Linked DNA regions of Homo sapiens: region 1 is linked to region 2. Evidence: promoter capture Hi-C in 16 types of primary human blood cells and fetal thymus (Javierre and others, 2016). All regions are on one chromosome and are shown on one strand. Each heading gives the region's core, a stretch centred on a gene start or on the middle of the fragment in contact. The rest is flanking DNA. Distances are from core to core; before and after follow the strand shown.

The links. Contacts are between HindIII fragments. The CHiCAGO score rates a contact against its expected background, and 5 or more counts as called.
Region 1: a contact is called between a fragment that was not itself captured here and the fragment with the promoter of FMN1 in region 2, in 3 of 17 cell types (M0 macrophages, monocytes and M1 macrophages). The highest score is 6.3, in M0 macrophages.

The regions. Positions count from the first base shown.
Region 1 is chr15:32,680,255-32,683,855 of GRCh38, forward strand. All of the region lies in intron 11 of ARHGAP11A-SCG5 (ARHGAP11A-SCG5 readthrough), which reads left to right. The region is part of intron 3 of SCG5 (secretogranin V); the gene reads left to right. Among named protein-coding and RNA genes, the nearest start is that of SCG5-AS1, 9.0 kb to the left of the region's middle. The HindIII fragment of the contact is 1,313 bases long and covers 1,637-2,949 here.
Region 2 is chr15:33,192,639-33,196,323 of GRCh38, forward strand. It overlaps FMN1 (formin 1), which reads right to left and starts at 2,076. Exons shown (of 21, transcript NM_001277313.2): 1 at 1,940-2,076; 2 at 1,271-1,422. It overlaps LOC105370759 (a long non-coding RNA gene), which reads left to right and starts at 2,273. Exons shown (of 3, transcript XR_932090.3): 1 at 2,273-2,937. RefSeq lists silencers at 2,055-2,394, 2,169-2,378. The HindIII fragment of the contact is 5,074 bases long and covers 1-3,685 here.

The DNA.
Region 1 (3,601 bases), core at 1,043-3,542, 510 kb before region 2:
GTGTGATCTTGGTGCACTGCACGCTCCGCCTCCCAGGTTCATGCCATTCTCCTGCCTCAGCCTCCCGAGTACCTGGGACTACAGGCGCCTGCCACCACTCCTGGCTAATTTTTTTTTGTATTTTTAGTAGAGACGGGGATTCAGCGTGTTAGCCAGGATGGTCTCAATCTCCTGACCTCATGATCCACCCTCCTCGGCCTCCCAAAGTGCTGGGATTACAGTCGTGAGCCACTGCGCCCGGCCTGCACTTGCTACTCTTTTAATGAAAGGGGAAACACTTTTTTTTCCTTTTCCATGATACAACTTCTGCTGAGTTTTAATGTCTTTGGAACTAGTTAGTTTGTGGATTATCCATGCCTGTTTGTTCTCCTCGTTGATCATGACAGTCAACATTCTAACAGTGTCATGCATCAACACCGAGTTAGCATCTATCCTAAAATCCTGTTTATTTGGGGGCCAGGAGGTGGCATGGGAGAGAAGAGGTTCAGGAAGAAGCTGGTTAAGGAAGAAGGTTGAAATTTTCCATGTTGTTCATGCATCCCACCCACTTTCCTACCCACTAATGCCATAGAGAATGGTGAGTGGGCTTCACTTACATCCGGCTTTGAGCAGCTGACCTTGGTGGTTAAGAGTAGTGGCTCTAGACTCTGACTACCTGAGTTCAAACTCCAGGTCAACCTGTGTGACCTTAAACAAGTTAATTAACCACTTCGTACCTCAATTTCCTTATTTGCAAAATGGAGGTCATTGTGGGAATTAAATAAAATTATCCATGTAAAGCATTTTAGCACAGCACCTAGCACAGAGTAAGGACTCTTTAAATGTCATCCTGATTATAATTAGCTTTGCTGCCCCTAGTAAATAATGCACCTCTTACCTTGGGCTTGTGTTAGCTTCTAGCACCAGAGTAGTCTTTTCCTGCAAGCCTAATAATAATAATAGTTGGTATTTATCAGGTTGGTGCAAAAGTAATTGCACTTTTTACTATTGCTTTCAATAGGAAAAACTGCAATACTTTTGCACCAATCTAATATTATTTCTACTTTATATTAAGAAAACAGAAGCTTAGAGAGTAGCTTGCATAAGGTTATCCAGGTAACAAGTAGCTGAACCAAGACTCAAACCCAAGTCTACCTGATTAAGGACTGTGTACTCAACCACCAGGACATACTGCCTTGCTCTGAAAATTGTGATAACATTGACTACTCAACTTTTTTTCTTTTTCTTTTTCTTTTTTTTTTTTTTGAGATAGGGTCTTACTTTGTTGCCCAGGTGGGAGTGTAGTGGCACAATTATAGTAATTCTGTGCCTCAGCCTTCCAAGTAGCTGGGACAACAGGTGTGTGCCACCATGCCCAGCTAATTTTTAAATTTTTTGTAGAGGTGGGGTCTCATTATGTTGCCCAGGCTAAACTCAAACTTCAGAGCTCAAACGATCCTCCCACCTTGGCCTTCCAAGGTGCTGGGATTATGGGTGTGAGCTACCACACCGAGACTTTTTTTTCTTATGATACCCATAACTAGTCTGACATCAGCTTTTCTTAAACACAATGCAGGCTGTCTCTGAAAGAGACTGTCTTAGAAAATATGCTCCTCCTTTCATTTAGGATGAGGCCTCTGTTTTCCGTGGGGCACAAAGCTTCCATCTTGAGGCAGAACAACCAAAGTAGTTGGATGTGACCAAGCCAATGTGTGGCTGCTGGGCCAGGAAGGCAGGAAAACCTGAATCCCTGCCTGGCTCTAATCATTTCAGCCACCTTCTACTTGTTTGTAGGGTTTTGGATGGGTAGGAAGAAAGACTAGTTCAGAGTTTAGAGAGCGACAGTCTCCATTGTTAAGTCCATTGGATGTGGTACAGTGCAGTGGTTCTTAAAGTGTGATTCCAGGACCACCAGCAGCAGCAGCACCTGAAAACTTGCTAAAAATGCAACTTCTCAGTCCCTACCCTGATTCAACCTATTGAATCAGAAGATTCTGGGGGTGGGACCCAGGAATTTGTTGCAACCAGTCCTCCTCATGGTTCTAGTGCACACTGAACTTAGAGAATATTATAGGAGAATGGAAAGAGGTCCAGAGTTTGAGCCAAGAGATCTGACCTCTAGTGTTGACTGTAGTATGCCACTTTCACTTTCTTGAGCCTTAATGTCTTCACCTATGGAAGGAAGACATAGGCAATGCCTCCAAAGAGCATACAGTGTAGTTCTAGCTTGTCTGAAAACAAAAACAATAAAAACACAAAATCATACAGACCTGTGGAATCAAGCTCTAGTCTGTGCACTTAGGAGCTCTGAGAGGACAGCAATCAAGCTGGCCTGGTAGAATTGGACAAAATCCCAAATCCAGACACTTTCTTGTCACAGGTTGTCTGCCATTTCCTTTGCTGTTCTTCCATGAAACTAACATATTCCCTCATTCTTTGTTCTGCCACAATCTGCATTCCAAGAATGAAATCGCTTGCTAAATTTAGCCATTATTTGTGAGGAATTGCTTGAATTATGACACAACACAGCACAGTTGAGCAATCCAAGAATAAAACCTTGATTTCTCCTTTCATGCCATGCTGTCCTCTGAATCATGGCCCACTCACCCTGGATAGAGCAGCAGAGCTCAAAGAGTCCATCTCAGCCTCAGAGATAGGATGTGAATTCTAGGGCACATTTTTAAGCCCGGAGACACCTTCGGTTCCCAGAGCAGGCTTTATCTGCATCTCAGTCAGGGCCCACTCAGAGGTACACCAGAAACAATTATGAAAGGTTATAAAGGTGCCATATGCAGATTGCCTGAACTCTCTTGAATTGGTATATTTTCCTACATGTTAATTGCTATATATTGTGTAAGTTAGATAAATAGCTCACTGAAAAGTGGAGAGCCGCATTAGGGATTTGTTCAGAATGCTGATGACTTCCACACTAGCTGTATACTGCTAAGAGCTGAGAGACTGTGTACTGAAAGCTTAAGAGCAGTGTCAAGAACTAGACAACCTGGCTAATTGTAAATGGCCCCCCTTTCAGCATTGACTTTGATGTCTCATTATGTCTTTCAAATGAGACCCTCCTTCTTCCCCCTAACCCTGCACAAAATTCACAATCCCTCCTCTGTCCCCCTTTTTATTGCTGTTGTCTAAAATATATTAGACATGGGAAAAATGACTCATTTTTAGAGCATCATGCCTAGTAATAATAGAATTTACATAAAAGCAGCATCTGAGAGAGATAGCCTTCTTTCTTTGGTTTCAATGGAAAACTTGCTTGATTTCAAAGGGCAGTCATAGTATAAACTGTCAGTCAAAGGGAGATAATGGGAAGGGAACTAAAACATATTGCAAACCTATTATGTGCCGGGTGTTCTAAATGTAATCATCTCTATTCCTCACAGCAATCCCGTAGGTAAGTATTTGATTATTTGCATCTCACACATACATGAACAAACTTGGAGAGACCAAGTTAACTTTCCAAAGGAACTAAGCCTATCTATATCTTAGGAGCTGGGATTTGATCCTTGAGCTCTGCTCTTGTCTGACTCCAAAGCTTAAGCTGTTATCACAATAAAACACAACATCAAGTGCTGTGTGGAGATTGTTGTTGTTGTGTAATGTACTTTCT
Region 2 (3,685 bases), core at 826-3,325:
CCTCTAAGATGTAGTGCTATAAGGAACCTGAAGACTACCATACCCCATTTGCATCAGCTCTGACACCTAAAAAGGATAAAGACAATGGAAAAAAATGCATAATTTTTAGGAACGAGACTGGCCTTTATTATCCTTCTTGACTAGTATTATTAATAGCAGTTACTATAAATTCCCCACTTATGTGCCAGAAACTACTGAGTATTTTACCTATATTATCTCGTTTAATCCTCACACCTTCTCCTAAGAGACAGGTAGTATTATCCCTATTTTACAGACGAGAAATTAAAATTAAAGAGGCAAGCAACTTGCAAAAATCACTGAGCTAGTCAGTGGCTGGTCCAGGATTTGAACCTATGTCTGACAGGTTTATGAGTTTAGCCATTACAATATACTGTCTCACTACTCTTCTCCATTGTTTCCCTCCATTGAGGCCATTGCTTCTTTGTTCCTGCAATATGTCTAACTATTCATTGGTCCTGCTCCTGGACTGTAACACAGTTGAGAGAAAGGAGACTAGTGTTTAGATATCTGATCAAGAAGACCCGAGACCTCATTGATTCATTGTGGAAGCAACATCTTCCACAACGACAGTTAATCTGGTATGCAATTCTCAGCTATACTGTTTTCCCTCCCAAAAAAGGGTTAATAAGTCTGTGATCCAAGAGATTTGCAGTAAGCCCTAGAAACAGCTAAGCAACGGCTGTTGAATCCCATTGGTGTGCCTATAAGATGCTACCTGGTGTAGAGAACAGAATATAATTCTCTCTCCTAGGAATTTAGATGCGCCCCTCCGCCCCCCTGCCAATACACACGCAAGGGGGCATAGCAGATGATGGCACATGTCCCATATGCAAACATGAATAGTAAACATGCTTTAGTACAGCTGGAGCTACTGTAGCAGAAAGTCAGGTTGTCTGCTACTCCACCTGGTCTTCTTAAAGGATTGGGTCTGGACATTCACCTCTCAGTGACTGCCACTCCCCATATATATCACAGGTTCAGGCTCTGCATTCAGCCCATTCGGAGTGTGTGAGTGCTAACATGGAACTCTCCAGGAGACAGCAAGCAGAAATGTGGATGATTAAAATAAAGGGTTTTCTTTGGCAATCTCAATTGCAAATGAGGATAAGGAAAATCCTCCCAGCTCACACTCTGCTCCCAGCTACTTGTTCTTGAGTTAAATGAGGGCTTGGCTCTGGCCTCAGGGGGCAAGAGCACTGTTCGTTATTTGGTGGTGGGGGAGGGGGTTGGGGGATCCGTCAGCACTTACATGCCTTTAGAGAATCTGCCTTTACAGAACTTGAAGAGCTCTGATGGAGGAACAGAGATGCTGTGGTGGTAGTGGCCTTGGAGGTGGTGGTAGTGGCAATGGTGATGATGATGATGATGAAAGAAGAAGAAAACGGTGATGGTAAATGTCATCTATAAACACAAGCAAAAAGCAGCAACAGATACCTTTCTAGTCATTGCCAACCATAGTCATGAAGCTGCTTCTGTTCCCAATGCAATCCCATTGTGGTGCTCCCCCTCTGCGCTAAACACATCCAGCTTCAAAAAAAAAAAAAAAAAAAAAAAAAAGCTCTGCATCTCTCCGTCCCCCGCCCTCCCGCCCTCCCGCCCTCCACCTTTCCTGTGCCAAGCTGGGAATGAGACTGCACTGGCGGGTCAAGGGGGCTGGGACCTGAGAGTCAACGACAGGAGTTCTGTAGTGAGGAGCGTTGGGATGACCCGGAGGGCCCACCAACGTACTTGGGAGCAGCTTGGTGGGGGAGCTGGAGGAACCGACACAGAAGGGGAGGAAGATAAGCTGGCGGGGTAAATAGACTTGATGCCTCATTCCAAGAACCCTGAAAGCCACGGGGGAAGGCGGAGCAGGCAGCCTTTGGTCGGGAAGAAGAGACGGGCAGATGGCCAGCAGAACAGACAAGACTCTCTTTACCTGACCAATACTCGGGAGGCTGGTCCCGAGTCCCAGCTACTCGGGAGGCTGAGGCAGGAGGATTGCTTACGGCAACAGCCGTGGCGGCTGCAGCCTCGAAGGATGCTGCGCTCCAGTCCAGAGCCAAAGCCCAAAGGGGCAGCTGCGCCGACCTCCACCGAGGCTCCGCCCCACAGGCCACAGGCCCCGCCTTCCTAGCACGCGCCGGCCTGACGAGCTGTTTGGGGGAGGTGAGCAGTAAACTGATCGGCAGGGCTGAAGACCAGTGGAAACGTGCAGCGGCGCCCGAGGTGGCAGGGGAGGCGGGGCGGGAGGCGGCGGTGCCCAATCAGCAGCCGAGCCGTTGGGCCAGGCTGGGAAGCAGTGCTGTCTTTTGGCACCGTCTGATCCGGGCTGAGGGATTGAAGGCGGTGGTCGCTAAGCTAGGTCTAAGACGGACAGCCAGGGCGACAACCAGTCTCTCGCTACGTGTCCCCAGCTTCCCTGTTTCCGAGCGCCTCTCAAGGCGCACGCTCTGGACTTGTTCAGATGGGGGAAGGGAACTGGTCTGGAACTCCCCACTATTCCCGAGGTTCCCACGCCTCCAGATCCGGAGAGGCCGTTTCGCTCCAGTGGCCTGGCCCCCCTGCCCCCTCAGCCTAGCCGTTCTTGATCGTAAGTGCTAAAAGGAACAAAGAAGGAGAATTCAAGAATCCACACATAAGCCCAAACCCTGACAGGAGCCTTTTCCTCTCCCATCTCCTGCCTACGCTTCCTCCTAGTAGCTTTTTAACTGCTGGCGGTTAAGTTACTTTGACTGGTTTGAATTAAACGCAAAATAGGTTTAGGCTGAGAAATGGGCCAGACCCTTGGCGATCTGAGAAAGAAAGACTGAGTCCGGATGTCAAGAGGCCTGGGCCTCACGAGGGAGTTTGTCTGCTTATTTGAACACCTCAGAGTTGAAGATCTTGTTACTGCTATTTCTGTGCTGGTGAATCAGTACAGACCTTGATGCCAAGGTACTGTTTTGTCCCCAAGTGTCTAATCATTACTGAAATGAACTACCTTCAAACCTTTCCTAAGAGGATTTGAGGCCTTAATGTCGTTGAGATTTGGAATGTGATTTGAGTGACACTGAGATCTTTTCCAAGTAGGTAGGCAAGAAAAGGCATTGTCTTTAATCTGCTTTTGGATAAATGCGAACTGTATCACCCATTTGGTACTTGAAGATAGAATTTTGTCCTGAATAGATTCTGTTTTCAAATAAGTAAATGGGAAAAAAATTTGGAAGGTATTTTTAAGGTGATTTTTTTCACTATTTTTTTTCTAGAAATAATAGTTTATTGGAACTCTGATTTATTCTTAATCACAATATTAGCCAAACACTGATAGGCCCTTTATTTATTTGTTTTTTTAACACACGGTCTCACTCTGTCACCCAGGCTGGGGTGCAGTGGTGCGATCTTGGCTCACTGCAGCCTCAACCCCGTGGGCTAAAGCCATCCTCCCAACTCAGCCTCCAAAGTACCTGGGACTACAGGCGGGCACCACCATGTCCAGCTAATTTTTTAATTTTTTATTTGTAGGGACAGGGTTTCACCATATTGCCCAAGCTGGTCTCAAACTCCTAAGCTCAAGCGATCTTCCCTTCTCAGCCTCCCAAAATGCCGAGATTACAGTTGTGAAGTGCTGTGCCCGGCTCCATAGGCACTTCATATACATTATCTCCTTCAATCCTCATATCTTCCCCTTGTAAATTCCACTTAT